Linked DNA regions of Homo sapiens: all the other regions are linked to region 2. Evidence: promoter capture Hi-C in human tissues and cell types (Jung and others, 2019). All regions are on one chromosome and are shown on one strand. Each heading gives the region's core, a stretch centred on a gene start or on the middle of the fragment in contact. The rest is flanking DNA. Distances are from core to core; before and after follow the strand shown.

Region 1 (5,086 bases), core at 876-3,375, 340 kb after region 2:
ATTTTGACGACACATGTGCAATGTTGTCTACCTTACCAGAGTTTCATTAGAGGCTCAGCACCCATGTTTTCGATGGAGGCTAGTCACATAGGCCACCTCTCCTCTCCCTCACATGTAACAAAACTCTAGACTCCCAGGAGGAAATTAATTGTTCATAGTAAACCACATTTGCACAAACACTTTAGGCACAGTGAGCCACTCCCTTCTTCTAAGTTAGGGAATGCTGGGAACCCTCCCAAATTCAAGGTCCCAAACACCAGCCAAGGACTAGCCTTGCAAGCAAGCCTTTCTAAGGATGGGTGTCTCATGCCTGCTATATGAAATCTTTGCTGCCCAGCAGCTATGCCCCTGAGTAAATTTTTGGTGTTATCTTAACATTTTATATAATACAATAGCAAATAATATGATAGACCATAACATGGTACTGGTTTCAGCTGCATCATTCATATTAAATAGCAAGGCTGCTTACAGTTTTGACATTTGGTGAATACTTAACAGGTATTGGTACATAAGTTACTATGGCAATATTAAGTAATTATAATCTGTCCTTCTTATCTGATTAACCTTTCAGTAAAATTGTGGGATAAAGTAGGCATAATAAGTTCTGATTTAAAATTAGAATAAAAATTGTCTTTCATTTTATTTTCATGGATGGACCAGTTTTGATTCATATTGTACTAAATCCCTGTTTACAATTATGAAATAAGATCAGATATTCAATCATTTTTGTGAATTTTTTTTTGCCTAAGTATACAATTAAAATTAATTGCTTTATGTGTTTTTATATGCTTCAATTTCGGAGATAGTACTCGTATTCTGTTACCTTGATCTTTAGTGATTTGCAATTTTCAAGGTGACTCTGTCTTTTTATAATTTAGGGTAATAGCAAGTTCAGTGAGTATGTGCTTTAGAATTAATAATATTATTTTCTGAGCAGTTCTAGATTCACAGCAAAATTGAGAAGGTACAGAGATTTTCCATATTCCCCATGACCCCTGACATATGAATAGCCTCCCTCATTATCAGTACCCCCCATCAGAGTTCATCAGAGTTACAGTTGAGGAATCTACCTTGACAGACACATCACCCCCAAGGTCCACAGTCTACGTTAGGGTTCACTCTTGGTTTTGTACATTCTATGGTGTTGGACAAATGTGTGATGGCATGTATATACCCTTGTAGTATCACAGACAAAATAGTTTCACTGCCCTAAATATCCTCTGTCCTCCACTGTTTCGTCTCTTCCTCTCCACTGGTTTCTGGCAACCATTGGTCTTTTTGGTGTCTCAGTAGTTTTGCTTTTTCCAGACTAGTCATATAGTTGGAATAAAACAGTGGTGGATATCTTTTTGAATATTTAAACAATAAAGTTCCATGGTAATTTGATTCTGTCATTTTAGATGTTCTTTGTCCTTGTGTTTGTTTTCCTCATGTTGTGTTCATCAGAACAGGATCTGATGGCGTATGATTTGACGTGCTGAGAAAGCGTGATTTCTGTAGATGTTTGCCACGTAACGGGGAGGGTGGGGAAAAATGGCATCATGCAGTATTCCACAGCACTAACTGGACCATCGTGCTCTAGGAGATGGGTCCAGATAGAGTCTAGCGATGGGACGGGATAATCTCAAGAGCTGGACTTTATAAAACTGGAATCACAAAGTCTTGCATACTTACCTTGCACTTAAAAAGAAGATCAGGCAGTGAACACTACAGGTGAATAAATATGTTCCTCTCTGGTTCTCTTCCTTTTAGGGATGAGCTTGAAAACAGTCTATATTATTAGAATATGGCTCATCTACAACTAAATGCTCTGTCATAGGAAATGCCAGTGTTTTTCTTTACAATAAATGAAAAATAATGTTGTTTTCACCAGAGAGAGTAACAACTGTTGGCACATTCTGGCAGCTTGAGTGAGCTGATAGTTCTGTTTATATATATTTTTCATACCAGGTAGTACTCCCTGGCAACCTGCCACCACTGTGGCAGTGTTTCTTCTTAAGCTTCTCACTGAATGAATGGTGTGGCTCAGAGTGAATAAGCTCTTTAAGGGAGTGATCTTTCCAGTGGTTCTGTCCATAGGAGGTAAAATGGGAGGTGAATTTGAGCCTTGTTTGTGCTAGGGAAAATAGCTAGAACTCAGTAAACATTGCCAGCATCTGCCCCAGAAGAGGATTAGTGAGAGTGAGTACATTGATCTCCCTTGAGCTCTTCTCCACTGGCAGCTGAAAAGTCTTTGCAAAGATCCTTATCCCTGGTCTCTTCCCTATGTTTTGCCACAGAACACAGCACAGCACCCATAGACCTACACAATAAAATGTACAGTTTTCCCCCCTTATCCATGGGGGTTATGTTCCAAGACCCCCAGTGAATGCCTGGAACAGTGGATACTACTGAACCCTAGATATGCAATGTCAGGATAGAAGGAAGAGGATAAGAGTAAAAGGGGGAATAAAGAATGTGGAAGGCAGAGAGTACAGAGAGTAAATGAAGGGAAAAGAAGCAAGTGGATATGATGGAGGGTGGTAAAATGAGATAATACTTCAAAAGAAGAGTGGGGTATTAGAAAGGTGGAAAGAATATAAGGTGAACGTGCAGCACCAAAACTTATCAGATAAGACAAACTTTACTTGCCAATATGTTAGTTGTGCTTTAAGTTTAATTATTTCATCATAGTGTGGCTATACTGATGATTTTAAGCCAGTCAGATATTCTGGTCAGCAAATCATGTGTGTGTGTTTTGATTATCAAAAACGAAGAAAGCAATTAATTACCCTTAATAACTACATGGTGGACACAGTCTTTTAAAACATTGATTCTGAAACTTTTTGGCCTGGGGTTCGTTTTATATGATTAAATATTATTGCCTAGAGGTAACCAACACCCTGAATTAAGAATTTATTATGTCCATTCCCTTTTAAAACATTTTATTACATATGTGTATGGTCATAAATAATATGTAGAATTTGTTTTCATGTCCTAAAATTGTATATAAATTGTTTTACACTCTACATATTTTGCAACTTTCTTTTGTCTGGTCACATTACATTTTTGAGGTCAGTCCTTATTGACACAGGAAGCTCTGGTTTTCTATCAAATGACTGGATCTCAAACTCTCTTCATAATGATAAATAAATAATTAAAATAAAGAAAAATTATTGCAAATTCCAAAGAGCTTTTATTTAAGTCGGTTGTGTCTTTTGATATTTACTATTTTAGAAATAAAAACTAAAATATTTTAAAAACAAGCATGCGGCCAGGCGTGGTGGCTAACGCCTGTAATGCCAGCACTTTGGGAGGCCGAGGCGGGCGGATCACGAGGTCAGGAGATCGAGACCATCCTGGCTAACACGGTGAAACCCCGTCTCTACTAAAAATACAAAAAATTAGCCGGGCGTGGTGGAGGGCGCCGGTAGTCCCAGCTACTCGGGAGGCTGAGGCAGAGAATGGTGTGAACCTGGCAGGCGGAGCTTGCAGTGAGCCGAGATCGCGCCACTGCACTCCAGGCTGGGTGACAGAGTGAGACTCCATCTGAAAAAACAAACAAACGAACAAAAAAAAACAAGCACGCTCAGCCATACATTCCAAAGCCTTTAGAACTATGACCCATTCACCATTAGAGCTATGATGTTATGACACACCATGTCTATGAAAAGCTCCACTGTACACGTGAAACAGAATGAGAGTGAAAATGGCAAATAACATTTTGTATTATTTGACGTCTTGGCCCCTCATCTGGATCTTGAACTCCAGGGATTCTCAGATCATAATTGAGAGTCAACATTTTAAACCACATATGTGGTTGTGGATAAATGCACCCTTTATGAAGAAATGGACTTTAAAGTTTCACTTATGTGTTTTTGGCTTTTTTCTTTCACTTGTCTTAAAAAATTTAAATCTCAGGCCGGGCACGGTGGCTCACGCCTGTAATCCCAGCACTTTGGGAGGCCAAGGCAGGCGGATCATGAGGTCAGGAGATCGAGACCATCCTGGCTAACGCGGTGAAACCCCGTCTCTACTAAAAATAAAAAAAAAAATAGCCGGGCGTAGTGGCAGGCGCCTGTAGCCCCAGCTACTCAGGAGGCTGAGGCAGGAGAATGGCGTGAACCCGGGAGGCGGAGCTTGCAGTGAGCCGAGATTGCGCCATTGCACTCCAGCCTGGGTGACAGAGCGAGACTCCGTCTCAAAAAAAAAAAAAAAAAATTTAAATCCCAACAATTTTGTTTATATAGTAAAAAGGAAAATATTTTTGTTATGTATTCCTTTCCTGTCTCGTGGCACTGTGTGCTATTTGGATCTAGTGTGGTCCTAGACTAATCCTGTTCTCACATGGGAACAGTTAGAGCCCTTACAGCTCTTATTTTGCAAATAAATGTATGAAGTTTATCCAAGTATTTGAAAGGAAATTCTGAAGATAGTGGTGAATTGAGAAAAGACCATCTCATTATAATTAAAATAGTTTTAAAAGTATATTTATTATGAGTTTTTGTAAATCCTGTGTCTCTACAATACATACATACAATGCTGTCATGTATATTTAAGCTTAAAATGGTTAGACATAAATTATGTTTTAAAAAATTTATATCCACAAAGAATCTTAATGGAAAGCAAAATATGTAATAGAGACTGCTGAGTGAATAAAAGTAAGTAATAGTAAACAGTAAAAATGTAGAAAAGTGAGAGATGATAGTTAATTAAACTTACCTGAATGAATTGTAAGCATAGGACATGTAAAATATAATAAGCCTGAATGCATAGTGTGTTGTGGGAGAGAGCAGGATGTGGGACTGTTTCTGTGAAGAAAGCATGTATACAAGTTAGTCAAATTATTGTGTTATTTACATCCTAAAAATGAAAACTTCATTTTCGGATTTTTCAGATTGGCATCCTACTAATTTGACCCTTAGTGATGAGACTTGTCAGAGATCCAAGAATCTGAAAGTTGGTGATAAAAGTCCATCTGTATCACCATCAATGCCTGAAAATCAGTCAGCAACCAAAGAACTGGGACAGATGAACTTAACAGAACGAGAAAAAATGGACACTGGAGTTGTACTTCTCTCAGGGAATGATACTCTCCATGACCTGT
Region 2 (5,201 bases), core at 2,175-4,674:
TCCTAACCCTTCTCATCTTTCAAGCCTATAGTGGGCATTGCCAGTTGCCTTCTTATATCTGGGGCTCTGGGGGCTGCTGGCAGTTGCTGGGGGCCACATGTACCCATTTAAGGTTCCCCGAAGGCCCCCATGCCAGAGTTGGCTTCAACTTCTTGATCTGTGTGGAGTTCTTAGTCCTCGCAACAGCTCTATGAAGCAGGTGCCATGTTACCAATGAGGAAACTGATGGTCTCAGAGATGAAAACACACCCATCTAGCAAGTGGTGCAGCCTGGATTTCAACTCAGGCTCAATCGCAGGGCTGGTCATTTCACATCAGGACACGAGGGGAGCTGGGCTTAGGACAGAGCTACACATGGATGGAGGCTGAGAGAACCAAAGTGAGGTGTAGCTGTATCCTTAATAATGCTGTGAATCCCTGGATCATACTGCACCTGAAGCCCTTTCTATTGCTGGACACAATTACATTTCCTGAATTCTTTTTTTTTTTTTTTTTTTTTTTTTGATACAGTGTTTCACTCTTTTGCCCATGCTGGAGTGCAGTGGCGTGATCTCAGCTCATTGCGACCTCCGCCTTCCGGTTTCAAGCAATTCTCCTGCCTCAGCCTCCTGAGTAGCTGGGATTACAGGCGCCTGGCACCACGCCTGGCTAATTTTTGTATTATCACAAAATAATACAAAAGTAGAGACGGGCTTTCACCATGCTGGCCAGGCTGGTCTCAAACTCCTGACCTCGTGATCCACCCGCCTAGGCCTCCCAAAGTGCTGGGATTACAGGCATGAGCCACTGCGCCCGGCCTACATTTCCTATATTCTTAGAGCTCATTTGAAAGCAGTTTTCAGTCACTTGTTAACAGATACTTTAATGAATGCAAAGGCTCAGCTCAAAGTCCCCTCCTCCAGGAACATCTCTTCCTTAAAGGCCTCCCCCCGGCCCCCGCCAGACTCTCCCAGGCCCACCATCTAAACATCTTTGCAGGGCTGCACCTGCCTGGCTTGCTCTGTCTGCTTCTCCCTGTGGGATGCATCTCCAGCATCCTCCCTGTCTGGTTCTGATCTTTTCTGGATGTGCTCACTGCTCTCTTGCCAGCCGCTCCCAGCTGGGCCAGCCTAGCCTGCTAGGAGGGACAGGGCAGAACTCCTACAGCCCTACTTCCAGGGGCACCAGCCTGCAAACAGCAAGCTGACTCACTAGGAGAGGTGGGTCATGGGCAACAAGGGCTGGTGGCCCAAGTCACTGGGCTACAAAGGGTCTGGCCTCAGGTGCCCAGAACATCTTTCTTAGACGTGCTAGCCAGGACAGCCTTGTCTCCCCTCCTCTTTCCCTCTTCAGATCTTGCCTGGCCCTTACCTCCCCTCATCCAGAAACCCTCCACTGTCTGTTCTGCCCCACGTGGGCACCTCCTCCTCTGAATTCTAGCCACCAACTGTCACAGGAATATAGCACGTTACAGTTTGCAACAGATTTTCACTTCCATTGGACCCTTGCTCCTTGGAACAGCCCTGAGATGTGGGCTGCACAGAAACCCGCATTGCGTGTTTGAGGAAACTGAAGCCCACAGAGATTAAGTGACTTAAGTACACAGAGCAGAGCCGAGACTTGAACTCGGCTTTGCCGATGGCCAGCACTGGGCTACTTGTGAGTTAATATTTAATCACATACAGGTTGAGGAGCCGTTATCCGAAATATTTGAAACCAGAAAAGTTTTGGATTTCGGACTCTTTCAGATTTGGAGATACTTACAGAATACCTGCCAGTTGAACATCCCCAACCCAAAACTCTAAAATCTGAGATGCTCCAATGAGCATTTGCTTTGAGCATCATGTTGGTGTTCAAAATGTTCCAGATTTTGGGTTTCAGATTTTTGAAATCCAACCTGTGATAATTAATTTTAATGACTGCGGCTGCTACTCTTATAATCACCACTGCTACAACTGCCACCACCACCACCACTGCTACCACTGTAGAACCAATGGCAGCAGCAAGGTCTGGTCCTGTGTGGGCCCCTTGATAGCAGACCTCACCCCAGGTAGGTGGTGTCTCCATATAACAGATCAGAACACTGAGGCCCAGGAAGCTGAGGGGACGTGACCAGTCTCCTGTTTGCCAGGCCTTCGTGCTTAGGCCAGGGGTTATGGAAGATAAGAACGGGTACTCGGCCGGGCGCGGTGGCTCACGCCTGTAATTCTAGCACTTTGGGAGGCCGAGGCGGGCAAATCATGAGGTCAGGAGTTCGAGACTAGCCTGGCCAACACGGTAAAACTCTGTCTCTACTAAAAATACAAAACATTACCTGGGTGTGGTAGTGGACGCCTGTAATCCCAGCTACTCAGGAGGCTGAGGCAGAATTGTTTGAACCCAGGAGGTGGAGGTTGCAGTGAGCCGAGATAGTGCCACTGCACTCCAGCCCAGGTGACAGTGCTAGACTCCGTCTCAGTTAAAAAAAAAAAAAAAAAAAAAGAAGGGGTACTCATTCTCCCCAGGAGACTGTCAGGGCTCAGGGATGCCAGGCTGGGGACCTCTGGGGCTTAAGAAGTGGAGCCCAACATCCCCAGGCGCTAAGCGTGGAGCAGGTGACCTGAACCAGGCTGTGTCCACCTTCCCTCAGGAAGGCCTCCACGATAGACCAGAGGAGCCCTTCCCTTGCTGCAGGGCCAGAGCCTCGGTTTCTCCATCTGCACATGAAACAGCCTGTCCCCAGGGGCCCCGCTGCCCCTGGAATCTGTGTGTGGGGTCAGATCTCTGCTCATTTCTCACTGTTATGAAGGGAGAAAGAACCGGCTTATGATCTAGGGCTAGGCCACAGGACATAAATCCCCAGGGAGCTTGTTCAAAATAAAGACCCCCAGTTCCCAGGGCCCTCCCTGCCTCCGGATTCTGATCCAGCAGCTCTGGGGTGCAGCCAGGGAATCCCGGGGAGCCTGTTGTTCAAGCAGACAGGAGTCACTGACACCATGGAGACTGGGACCAGGAGGCTGATGGGCCACACCCAAGGACTCCAGCTGGGCAGCAGCACAAAAGCCCAGTTACCTGTTAGAGAGAATTTCCTCCTCCTCACTTTGCAGATGGAGACGCCATTACCCAAAGAGAGAAACGGGCTTGGTCAAGGTCTCCAAGCAAGTCTACCCCAGGCTGGGAGGAGGACCACAAGGATCACTAGGCCACCAGCTGGGACCAATGCTGACACCACAGGGACATGCTGGACCCCGGTTCCCACCCCAAGCACCAACCCTGAGAGCCCACTTGGCCAACACCACCACAGGTCCCCTTACCCATATGCCCACGGCCACATTCAGAGCAAAATACACAGTGATGACGATGATGTCAGCCACGCTCAGCTGCGTCCCGGGAGTGTGGAGGTCGCTGGTGGAGTTGGCGGCCATGGCTGTCCTGCCGCAGGCACTAGGTATGAGCCCGAGGGACTGAGGGGCAAACCAGGTCAGAAAGGGTTTCCTGGCAGGGAGCTCATTGATCATTAAACCAAGCGGACAGTGGCATCTCCAGCCCATGATGTGGCTGCATGCAGGGCAGCTGCCTCACCATGCAGTTCAGCTTCCTCACCCCATGGTGGGGTGCAGATCCCAGAGCGCAGGAGTCAGGGAGCCTGGGAGAAGCAAGTGGGAGGAGGAAAGGAAGGAGCCTCCTTGAACTCGGAGGGGGCTTGGGGAAAATGAACCGCATTTAGTGGACCCGGAGGCAGCCCAAATAGTCCCAGAAAGGCTGGGTTGCTTAATGGGTGGCTTCACCTATATCTAATTTGTATAAGAAGCATAGAGCGTAGGGACAACCGCCTCACCTCTGAAGATACTGCCGTGGCGGGCAGCCATGTCCTCCCTTGGCCATCGGGCTGTGAGTGGACTGAGCAGGGCTTGGGAGGGGGACACCTGCATTATGGCTCACGTCCAGCCAACACAGCCCAGGCTCAGAGGCAGCCCCATGTCGGACAATAAAGTCCTGCTTCCAGCGTTTCTGCTTTCTTTTTCTAGACCCGTGAAACAGTCCCAGGCCCCTCAACTTGACCATGCATTCGGCCCCCACCCCGGGCAATGTCTGCCTGGGACCACAGAGGGACCCAATATCTGTCACACACCAAGGACCATGCGTGGCTGTTCTGCACATGATCCCATTTCACGGACCATGCGTGGCTGTTCCGCACATGATCCCATTTCACGCTCACAGCAGCCACGCAGAGTAGGCAATGTCTCATCCTAGTCAAGGAAATGGCCATCCGCCATTACGCAGCCATTGAAGGCGCAGAGTAGGATTCAGTGCAGATGTGGCCCCACCGTCTCCACCGCAGTGACAGTGACGAGTTCCATCTGGATTCCATCAGAGTGGGACGCTCGCTCACTAATTCTATCAGTGTACACAGCAGGGCTGGCCGGCAGTCTCACGCCTCTGCTCAGTGACATGACTCGTGACTTTGCAAAGCATTTGCAGTTTAACCAGACATGCAGCACTTCCAGAAGTGTTAATGAGTGAGCGGCTGCCACCAGGAACACGCTGGCCTGCAAACCCAGCCAGCCTGTTACTCAATAACCCTGAGGTGCGGGTAAAAATTAATCCCCTCGGCCAGGAGCAGTGGCTCATGCCCTTGGGAGGCTCATGCCTTTGGGAGGCCAAGGCGGGTGGATCACCTGAGATCAGGAGTTTGAGACCAGCCTGGCCAACATGGCAAAACCTCGTCTCTACTAAAAATACAAAAATTAGCCAGACATGGTGGTACGCACCTGTAATCCCAGCTACTTGGGAGGCTGAGGCAGGAGAATTGCTTGAACTCAGGAGGTAGAGATTGCAGTGAGCCAAGACTGCGCCATTGCAGTCCAGCCTGGGCAACAGAGGGAGACTCCATCTCACAAAACAAACAACAACAACAACAAAAAACAATTAATAGTCCTCACATACAGGACTAGGCAGAAGAAGGAAGGGAAAAAGGAAGTCACTGCTGAGAGAACCCTCAGGCAGGCTCAACTGCCTGCCGTCTCCCCTTGCCTCTGGCCAGCGAGCCTCAGATGGTGTTTACTTCCCAAGCCATTGCTTGCAATGTGTTTTAAAACAAAAGGCTGCTTTGCACTGATCAGGAGGACCCAGCTGGGAGGATCCAGACTTACCAAAACTATCCCATTAATAGAGTAGTTGTACCAGCAGCATTGGCTCTGAGACCGTTGGCTAGGTCTTAGAAGGAAATAAACCACTTAGTG
Region 3 (5,294 bases), core at 539-3,038, 300 kb after region 2:
ATTAACTGTACATAATAAACTATTATATATATATATATACACACATATATATATATATATATATATATATATATATATATATACACATTTTAAGTTATAGGGAATAAAGTTTATTTTGGCAGATAGTGTTAAACAAAATTAAAGTTGCATACATTAGTAACATAACTCAACATCCTTAATTTGGTATAGATGTGACACATTTTCTTGCTCTCCTGTGTTCTGCTAAATCACCATACCTAAACTGCTTTATAAAACTGATATGCTGAAATTTAACTTTACTGTTTTCGCTTACGCTCTGATTCCAAACAAAACTTTTCATAAGCTTCTTCTATCTCTGGGTCCATCTCATCATCAATATCATCCAAGTATGGATCACCAGCCCCGGATAAATCTGTTCCATTTTCTTCATAATCTGGAAAAAAGTCCTCTCTTTCAAGTAATTCTTGGTATTTCTCTTGGTAATCTGGATCAGCTGCAGTGAAAGGAACACCATCAGATGTATAAAATGTTGGTTCATTCATAAAGTAGTTAGGATCATTTTCTGGTGTTGCTTCTCTATATGTTGAAGTTGCATGGACTCTACCCCAGTTACTTGACCGGAGTTCTACAAGCTTCAAGAGCATCTGTTTTACATCTCTACTGCAGTTTGCATCTAGGACAACGTTTTCAATTCTCTGAATAATTTCTTCCATATCCATCTTTCCTTTTTCCTTCCAAGCATCTTCCAAAACTGATCCTGTCAATTTTAACAATTTTACTGCACAAATTAAATTGTCATCCATAGGATTAGAAAACAGGGCATTCAGCAATTCTCGAAGACCAACCTGAAGAATATCTGCTCTTGTAACCTGTCCATTTGTTCCCTTGATCTCCAGGTTAAGATAAAGTTCTCCCAGAAAGAATACAAATGCATGAAATCGTTTTCGAGTAACTTCATCCCCTTTTGCAGCTTGATCTTTAACTTCATATTCAGTCCGACATCTTTGAAGTAGCAATTGGCGGAAGTTGCCACTCTGTGGGCTAATTGTCAGATGATGGGACAGGTAATTACACAGGCGAGCTCCCATATAAGAGAAATTTGGGATAGACGTGGCCTGTTGATAGATGAGTTCCGCAAGTTCTTGCAAAGCATCATCTGTTGTAACGCAACCATTCAGGGTCTCTGCAAACTGTTCAATTTCAGTTTCAAAACTGCCAGGCTGCTCTGTAAGATGATTCAAAAAATCCTGAACATATTCTGATGGAGTAGGATAATCCTCACAACCAACCTCATAGGATTCTGTGTAACTGGAGGAATAACCTGAAGGGTAAAATTCAGGGGCATTCACAGACAGCTTAGACCTTAATACAGGAGCTACAACCACCTGGGGCTTAGCCATTGCTGACTCCGAGTTCTGCTGTGGGATTTTATCCTGTGAACTAGGTGGAGCTCTCAGGGACCTCGTTTGCTCTGGGAGCGCCCCGGGCGGGGAAGGCCGCTGGGGGCTGGCGGGGACCTCGCACTGGGCCCCTGGCGGCGGGGTCGTCCTGGGCTGGCGCAGCGGCGGTGGCTGCAGGAAGCCCGGGGCTTTGGGTTGCGGCGGCTGGTGCCGCGCCCGCTCAGCAGGCCCCGCTCCGTTCGGGCCTTCAAAAATATTAATGTCACATAAGACAAGGAAAAGCTGAATAACTTCCAAATTAAAAGAGACTAAAGCATCATGACAACTAAATACAATACAGGATCTTTGACTAGGTCTTGTGTGAGAGAAAATCTCCTAAAGACATTGTTGGTTCAATTTTTCAAAACTGGAATACAAGCAGTAGAATAGATAAAAGTAATGTATTGATGTTAAATTTACTGCAGTTGATAACTGTATCATGGTTGTGTAAAGTATTAATAATATCCTCATTATTGAGAAATGCATATTGGAAGTATTTAGAGGTAAAGAAGAGTAATGTATGAAATTGAAATGATTCAAGAAAAATTTGTATATAGAAAGAGCAAATGATAAAACAAGCAGGATTAAACGTTAACTGTGTGTCAGTCTAAGAGGAACCTGGCTATCCTTTGTAATTCTATTGTAGTCTTTGTGTAAATTTCAGGTTACTTCCAAATTTAGAAAAAAATTAAGTGAACACATATATTGACCCAAAGTTAGACCCATTCTGTAACATGAAAATACAAGGCAAAAATATATATAATACAACTATGTTAAAAGACCCTTTTTTCTATCTTACCTAAAACTTAACATCTCCAATGATTATCCATTAATAAGCTCTTTTTATTTTATTTTATTTATTTTATTTTTTTTTTTGAGACGGAGTCTTGCTCTGTAGTCCAGGCTGGAGTGCAGTGGCGCCATCTCGGCTCACTGCAACCTCCAACTCCTGGGTTCAAGCGATTCTCCTGCCTCAGCCTCCCTAGTAGCTGCGATTACAGGCGCCCGCCACCACGCCCGGCTGATTTTTTGTATTTTTAGTAGAGACAGGGTTTCACCATGTTAGCCAGGATGGTCTCAATCTCCTGCCCTCGTGATCCGCCGGCCTCGGCCTCCCACAGTGCTAGGATTACAGGCGTGAGCCACCGTGCCCGGCCTAATAAGCTCTTTGTTTTTTCCTTTTCTTTCTTTCTTTCTTTTTTTTTTTTTTTTTTGAGACTGAGTCTGGCTCTGTCGCCCAGGCTGGAGTGCGATCTCCGCTCACTGCAAGCTCCGCCTCCCGGGCTCACGTCATTCTCCTGTCTCAGCCTCCTCTCCTGCCTCCTGTCTCAGCCTGTAGCTGGGTCTACAGGCGCCCGCCACCACGCCCGGCTAATTTTTTTTGTAGTTTTTAGTAGAGATGGAGTTTCACCTTGTTAGCCACGATGGTCTCCATCTGACCTCGTGATCAGCCCGCCTCGGCCTCCCAAAATGCTGGGATTACAGGCGTGAGCCACCACGCCCAGCCAAGCTCTTTCTTAAAGAGAAGATATTTCCACCTTTAACTGACAAAATCCCAAAAATTTATGTCAAGAATTTATTTTTAAAAACTTCTCGAAGATCATTTAGAAAGATTGATAACCACATTGGAAAAAGTATAAAAAATTGCATAGACCCCTGAAAATATGATTATATACATTTTCTTTTTTTGTTGTTTTTTTGAGACGGAGTTTTGCTCTTGAAGCACAGGCTGGAGTGCAATGGTGCAATCTCGGCTCACTGCAACCTCTGCCTCCCGGGTTCAAGCGATTCTCCTGCCTCAGCCTCCTGAGTAGCTGGGATTACAGGCGTACGCACCACCACGCGAGTTTCGCTCTTGTCCCCCGCGCTTGAGTGCAGTGGCACGTTCTTGGCTCACTGCAACATCTGCCTCCCGGTTTCCAGCAATTCTCCCACCTCAACCTCCCGAGTAGCTGGGATTACAGGCGCCTGCCACCATGGCGAGCTAATTTTTTTTTGTATTTTTAGTAGAGACGGGGTTTCATCATGTTAGCCAGGCTGGTCTCGAACTCCGGACCTCAAGAGATCCGCCCACCTCGGCCTCCCAAAGTACTGGGATTACAAGCATGAGCCACCGTGCCCAGCCTGATTATATACATTTTCAATAAACATTTATGAAAGTGGTATCAGGCCTTTTAATAATCAGAAGACCAAAATAAATGAAAACGAAATAACATTATCCACTAACCAGAATATATAAAAGGAAGACTGACAAAATCAGGTGTTGGAAAGGACATCTAATTAGAACTCTCAAACTTGTGGTTGGGTTATATATTAGTCAAAAAAATCTTTGGAATTAAAATTTAATTGATAAATTGTATGTATTTGTGCTATACCACATTTTACATACACACACACACACATTGTAGAATAGCTAAATCTGTGTATATATATGTATAGCAACAGACAGACATTGTAGAATGGCTAAATCAAGCTACCTAGCATATCAGTTACCTCAGATACTTATCTTTTTTTTTTTGTGGTGAGAACATTTAAAATCTGCTGTCTCAACAATTTCAAGTATTACCACATTGTTATTAACTGTAGTCAACATGTTGTACAATAGAGCTCTTGAGCTTTTCCTCCTAGCTGACATTTTTAGTGACATGCGTTGCATTTGAACATATGCAGTTACCATGACCAAGCTATTTTATTTGTAGGGCTGTACTTAACTAAAATATCTATACATGTGTACCAAAAGAAATTAACAAGAATGTTCATAGTGGCTTTATTGCTTGTAGTCCCAAATTAGAAACAAACCAATGTCCATCAACAGTAGAATTGGTAGATGTGCCATATTCATGCAGAGCACCACTGAGCAGGGAAAAGAAATGAACTGCTTGGGCCGGGCACGGTGGCTCACGCCTGTAATCCCAGCACTTTGGGAGGCTGAGGGGGACGGATCACTAGGTCAGGAGATTGAGACCATCCTGGCTAACACAGTGAAACCTCATCTCTGCTACAAATACAAAAAAATTAGCTGGGCATGGTGGCAAGCGCCTGTAAGTCCCAGCTACTCGGGAGGCTGAGGCAGGAGAATGGTGTGAACCTGGGAGGCAGAGCTTGCAGTGAGCCGAGATCGCATCACTGCACTCCAGCCTGGCCGACAGAGCGAAACTCCATCTCGAAAAAAAAAAAAAAAAAAGAACTGCTTCATGAAACCACTTGAAGGAGTGTCACAAATGTAATGCTGGGCCAAAGAAGCCACACACAAAACCATTCCTACTGAATGGCCCTCCATGCATCCATTTATGAAACAGACAACACTAATTGGGGCTGCTAAAAACCAGGTGACTCTTTGCTTTGACAAGACAGGTGGGCAGTGGTTAGGGAGCAGACCTTCAGGAGAGGGATTTCCAGATTGTTATTTTTATTTCATTTTCTTGGACTGTGTGGTAGCTCCAAGCATGTGTCCTCTTTGTGATAAATCACTGAGTAGTAGAATAATAGGATTCCTGTGTATATTATACTTTAATAAACATATTTGAATTCCTTTTTCCATTAGGACAAATAATATAAAACATAATAAATCTTTGCAATTTTAATATTATTTCTAGTTGATGAAAAATAAGTCACCTGAAGGATTCCAAACTTGCGCATTTCAATATAGAACTTACATGTTCTAATATATATTTCTAGAGATCCAAAACTGTCTGATTAATGTCATTTGAGTGTAAAAAAGCACAGTTATGTTTACAATTTGCTCTCTAATCTTTTACTTGAAGTTAAGCTAATTATCCACATCCATCAATGAAACTGCTTTCACAGAAGAGTCCAATCCATGGCATAAATGACAGGAACTTTAGAAAAGTCATTTCTTCTTCATTGTTTATGTAA
Region 4 (5,525 bases), core at 92-2,591, 310 kb before region 2:
TGGACTGCAGGCTCTCAAGGGACAGAGACCCCGACTGTCTCCTTGATGCTGCATGCTGGGCCTGGCACAGTGCCTGGCACACATCTGCTGCAAGAATGAATGACTCTACAGGGCACCGAGTCCAGCCCCACCTGCTCACACACTCCCCCCTTTCTCTCTCCCTTCCTCCAAGCTCTCTGATCCTCTCTACACCCTTACCAAACCACAAATGCCCTCACTGAACATAAAACATGGCCTATGAATATTGGTAAGTTTTAAAATAACTACCTGGCAGAATGAAAAGATCACTGCTCTACCCAGCACCTTTTAGTCACCTCACTGAATCTCAGTTTAGTTTCCTCATTTGTAAAATGGAAATGGCAGCCAGCGAGAATCAGCAAGATAAGGAACATGAGAGAGCTGTAGGAAATAAGGCTGCACTTTCTGCTTCACTACAGGTTTCCCCACATGCCTCACATGCTTTTGACGGGCCCTCTTCAGGTCCCACTGGTCCTTTGACCATGCCTCTCAAAGAAAAACAAAAATGGGAGCAAGCTGACATCCCAACAGGAGGGGAATTTTTTAGTTTACTTCGCACTAAATTTAACAGCATAAACAAACTGGAGTTCGCAAACCATATAATTTTTATAATTCCTAAAAGATTAGAAGTATGCTACCAAATGTCAAAACACAAAACCAAAAGGAAATCAAAGTTGTTATTTTCCTTTTGGTTTTATCTCCATTGGCCAAATGCTTTTTGTTCAAACAATGTTTACACTGCCATTGTCCTGCTTTGTTTAGAAAAATAATAATAAAGGGGCGCGTTTCCAGCACTGACAACTGGGTGCGTGTGCAGATCTGCCCAGCTGCTCCTAAACTCAGAAATCGCTCTACTTTAGAAACTTGTGCCGAGAGGCCAAGGAAGAACTGTTTACTTGCCCTCCAAATATACACTGGCTACATCCATGCCCCTAACCCCCCTTCTCGCTCCAGCCCCCCTCTTTCCTTCAGCCACCACAGGGAGGACCAGGCCAAGAAAACAGGGATGTTCTTCAGCATATTTATGCCTCACAAGGAAAACATAAGCCCAAGGCCTCAGGAAGGCCAGGTCTGGTGACTCAGTGACTGCAGACTCAGCTGCTGCTGGTCAAATGCACCAAGGTGACAGCTATAATTTACTGAATGCCTACCATGTGCCAGGCACTGACCCAGGGGTTTCATGGCACTGATCTTGCTGCACTTTTGCAAGGCAGGCATTACACAAGAGAGAGGATAACATACAGCAAATCACAGAACTGGGATGAAGCTCTCAGCCACAATGCCTCCTGTGAAACTCAGAAGTGCTCAATCCTAAACCTCCATTCTACTTATATTACTTCTATGTGGTTGCCCTTCTCTGTTCCAATATCATCATACCCATCTAAGACGCTCCTTGGAAGATGTGAGGTTTTTCCACCAACCAGCTTTCAAGGCCAACCCACGTAATTTCTATCCTGGAACTCCCTCCTTACTAGTGAACGCTTTCCGGAATGACTTGTCCAAACAAAACCACTCTCATGGGCCCCAGGGATGGGCCCCACTTCTCTTCTCTTCTAAAGTACTGATCCTAGTCACCAAGTATTTCCAGTTCACCCACTTCTAGGCCTATGACAGAAGTGCATTTTCCCACCTCCTCTGAAGTCAGCCATGGCACGGCAATGAGATGAGATAGAAATGATGTGTGTCACTCTCTGCTGAACAGTAAAAGGCAGGTGCCACATTCCCTGCGGTGGTGACAGTGGGTGCCTATGTCAGGATGGAGCCTCCTTATCTATCCAGAGACAGGAAAGCATGTCTACACAGGGACTCATGTACCATGTTCACAGCTGTGTTACTCACGACTGCCAAAGACTGGAAACAACTTTGTCCAATTGATGAACAGATCAACAACATGTGATCTATCCACACAATGGAATATTATTCAGCCTTAAAAAGGAAGTTCTGGCCCATTCTACCATATGGATGAACCTCGACAACATTACACTGAATGTAAGAAGCCAAACACAAAAGCCCACACACTGTATGACTCCATTTATGTGGAATGTCCAGAACAGGCAAATCCACAGAGACAGAAAGCAGACTGATAGTTGCCAGGGGCTGGAGAGAATGGGAGGGGAAATGACTGCTTAATGGGTACAGGGTTGCTTTTGGGGGTAATAAAATGTTCTAAAATAAGATTATGCTGATGGTGAACTTTATTGCAGTTGCCAGGGGCTGGAGAGAATGGGAGGGGAAATGACTGCTTAATGGGTACAGGGTTGCTTTTGGGGGTAATAAAATGTTCTAAAATAAGATTATGCTGATGGTGAACTTTATTGCATGGCAAATAAATTATGCATCAATAAAACTGTTTTTGTTTTGTTTTGTTTTGTTTTTGAGATGGAGTTTTAACGCTCCTGTTGCCCAGGCTGGAGTGCAGTGGTGTGATCTCGGCTCACGGCAACCTCCGCCTCCTGGGTCCAAGCGATTCTCCTGCCTCAGCCTCCTAAGTAGCTGGGATTACAGGCATGTGCCACTACACCCAGCTAATTTTGTATTTTTAGTAGAGACAGGGTTTCTCCATGTTGGTCAGGCTGGTCTTGAACTCCCGACCTCAGGTGGTCCGCCCGCCTTGGCCTCCCAAAGTGCTGGGATTGCAGGCATGAGCCACTGCACCTGGCCTGTTTTTTTTTAGATGGAGTCTTGCTCTGTTGCTCAGGCTGGAGTGCAGTGGCACAATCTCAGCTCATTGCAACCTCTGCCTCCTGGGTTCAAGCAATTCTCCTGCCTCAGCCTCCCAAGTAGCTGGGACTACAGGGATGCGCCACCATGCCTGGCTGATTTTTGTATTTTTAGTAGAGATGGGTTTCACCACGTTGGCCAGGCTGGTCTCGAACTCCTGACCTCAAGTGATACACCCACCTTGGCCTCCCAAAGTCCTGGGATTACAGGTGTGAGCCACCACTCCCAGCCAATAAAACTGTTAACAAAACAAAATAAGACAAAACAAAAAGCTTGTGCCACCATCATCCTAGGTTCATGAGTGACTATGAGTGAAGTCTCCTGACTACATACACTGGACATGCCCCATGAAAAAGAAATGAGCCTCTGCTGTTAGGCCACTGAGGTGAGAGGGTTGGCTGTTCTCACATCATGTAGCCCATCCTGATACACCTCAAACACATCCACGCTATCATAAGTTCATACCGAAAATGTGTCTAAGGCCAATTAACTTAAATCCTGGAAGGAAGCCAAAGGTGTGGTTCTGTCCCAAAGCCACTGTCCAAATCTTCAAACATAAGGAGATGGGGCAGAGGGAAGGGGAGGAATAGAATTATTTAAAGACTCTGCCTAGATCAGAATAATTCCTAGCCTGAAAAAAATTTATAACTCATAAGACAATGAACTAACCTTCCAAAAATATAAAAAACACCTTCAGAAATTGAGAAAAAACCAATAACCCAAGAGAAAAATCGAAGAACTGTCCACAGAAAACTATAAATGGTCCTTAAACATATGACAACATGATCAGCTCCTCTTCAGAAAAATACAAATTAAAACTATACTGAGATATTATTTACAAGTGTCAGGCTGGCAGAACTCCAAGCATTTGACTACACCTTGTGTTGACGAGTCAGTGGGGAATCAGGCATCAACACCGCCAGTGGGAGTGCAACATGGAACAAGCCCTGTAGAGGGCAACTGGGCAAAATCTGTCAAAATTACAACTGTGTTTCCTCTTTGACTCAGCAATGTGCCTGCGGGATGCCACCCTGCAGGACCACTGCAATGTGGGAAACGATGTGCACGTGAGACAACTGTCGCCGGCATGTCATGAAACAAGCTGGAAACAGCCAGGTGCCTTTCCTCAGGGGTGAGTATTCAAACAGGGACAACTTCACAGTGCAACACAGCTGAAAGAGAATGACAACCATTCTCCATGCACTGATATGGAAAAATCTCTACAATAAGTTAAAAAAAGCACAAGATGAAGAACAGTACACACAGAATGCTATCTTTCATTTACTGAAAAGGGAGAAATAATAATACACAATTTGTGTTTGCTGTACTTGCATTAAGAAAAACTAGAAGGGTATTCAAACTGCTACAGGTGGTTACCAGGGAGGAGGGAGGACAGAGATGAGATCAGGAGTGAGGGGCAAAATTTCTTAAAATATATTTTAATATATTTTCATTTTAGAAACGTGACTGTATTGCCTATTCAAAAGAGCATTTCATTAAAAAAAAAAAAAGTTCCATTCTCAAAAAAAAGAAAAAATACCAGAGCCACATCAAAGCCTTTGGCCAACAGGTCTCAGATGCCAGGGCCAAGAGCAGCCCAGGAGTGACCACCAGCCCAGGTCCACCTGTGTCCTTCCGCCACCAACCCGTGTAAGAGCCCATTACCAAGACCTGTGAAGCTGGAGGGCAGGGACCCTGCACCGTCCCGCGTCTGTCCCTTCCTTTCTGTGACTCTCTTCCAGGCCCCTCCAGCTTCACATTTGGAAGGCTATAAATGGCCTTTAATGCTTCCCCCACTGTCAATGCCCCCATCCAGCCTGCTATCCACTCAGTCTGGGTTTCCTTCCTCCTGGCCCTCTCCCATGGGCTGTCCAAAGCATCGTGCACAAATCCAGCACAGCCCTGTGTCCCTCCCATCATAAGGTAGCAGATTCAAGAAGGGAAGAACCAGAGCTCCTGGCATCCACTTGTGCAGCAAGTCCTTCCTCAGCTTCTGCTTTCCTGCTACCTGCCAGGCACTGGGCTGGTGCTGAAGGATGGAGGTCAACCTGACACAGTCCCTGTCTGCAGAGAGCTCCAGTGGCACAGTCCACAGGGAGTGTGGAAACATAATCCTACAGTGGAAGTCTAAAGGGCACAGGACAGCAGACTGGGCTTTTAGGCCAGCCATGGAGTGTGCAAGGGGGCAGACGAGGTGGGTATGCAACAGGCAAAGCACATTCCAAGCAAAATGAGGAAAAGCAAGTGAAGAAACGCCACAGGCCAAAGCAGTAAGGCAGAATACCCATGGTAAAGATAAAGAAGTCCGTCCCTTCCTCCGGGCATTTAGGAGCGAGGGGTCGCTCTCTCAAGGCCCATCTGCGAACAAAGTCCCATCCACCTTGCTCTAGGCACCCTTGGCCTTTTCCCTGGAACTAGGCAAGCCTGGCCTTCATTTAATCAGGGAACAGGGAGAGTGTAAAAGAGAAAAAAACAAAAACTGCAAGCAAAGATCAAAAGTTTTGACCCCTAAAGACCCAATACTCAGCCGGGCGCTGTGGCTCATGCCTGTAAACCCAGCACTTTGGGAGGCCGAGGCGGGCAGATCACAAGGTCAGGAGATTGAGACCATCCTGGCTAACACGGTGAAACCCCGTCTCTACTAAAAATACAAAAAGTTAGCCAGGCGTGGTGGCAGGCGCCTGTAGTGCCAGCTACTCAGGAGGCTGAGGCAGGAAAATGGTGTGAACCCGGGAGGTGGAGCTTGCAGTGAGCCGAGATCGTGCCACTGCACTCCAGCCTGGGTG

Evidence for each region. The method cuts DNA at HindIII sites, captures the fragments that hold promoters and counts their contacts. A contact is called where the count stands out against the background at its distance.
Region 1: a fragment that was not itself captured here is called in contact with the fragment with the promoter of SLC5A10 in region 2 in 5 of the 25 tissues and cell types used here (H1 embryonic stem cells, aorta, dorsolateral prefrontal cortex and 2 more).
Region 3: a fragment that was not itself captured here is called in contact with the fragment with the promoter of SLC5A10 in region 2 in 4 of the 25 tissues and cell types used here (adrenal gland, dorsolateral prefrontal cortex, spleen and 1 more).
Region 4: a fragment that was not itself captured here is called in contact with the fragment with the promoter of SLC5A10 in region 2 in 1 of the 25 tissues and cell types used here (mesenchymal stem cells).

What each region holds. Positions count from the first base shown.
Region 1 is chr17:18,610,083-18,615,168 of GRCh38, reverse strand. LOC107985051 (a long non-coding RNA gene) reads right to left here. Exons shown (of 3, transcript XR_001752812.2): 2 at 4,702-4,790; 3 at 1-3,528. It also overlaps the pseudogene CCDC144BP. Among named protein-coding and RNA genes, the nearest start is that of TBC1D28, 32 kb to the left of the region's middle. The HindIII fragment of the contact is 7,367 bases long and covers 1-5,086 here.
Region 2 is chr17:18,950,388-18,955,588 of GRCh38, reverse strand. It overlaps SLC5A10 (solute carrier family 5 member 10), which reads right to left and starts at 3,424. Exons shown (of 15, transcript NM_001042450.4): 1 at 3,273-3,424. The coding sequence starts at 3,383. The HindIII fragment of the contact is 13,514 bases long and covers 1-5,201 here.
Region 3 is chr17:18,646,524-18,651,817 of GRCh38, reverse strand. It overlaps the pseudogene PAIP1P2. Among named protein-coding and RNA genes, the nearest start is that of TBC1D28, 4.8 kb to the right of the region's middle. RefSeq lists an enhancer at 1,034-1,534. The HindIII fragment of the contact is 6,520 bases long and covers 1-5,048 here.
Region 4 is chr17:19,259,351-19,264,875 of GRCh38, reverse strand. The region is part of intron 1 of EPN2 (epsin 2); the gene reads right to left. Among named protein-coding and RNA genes, the nearest start is that of EPN2-IT1, 9.3 kb to the left of the region's middle. The HindIII fragment of the contact is 7,234 bases long and covers 1-4,958 here.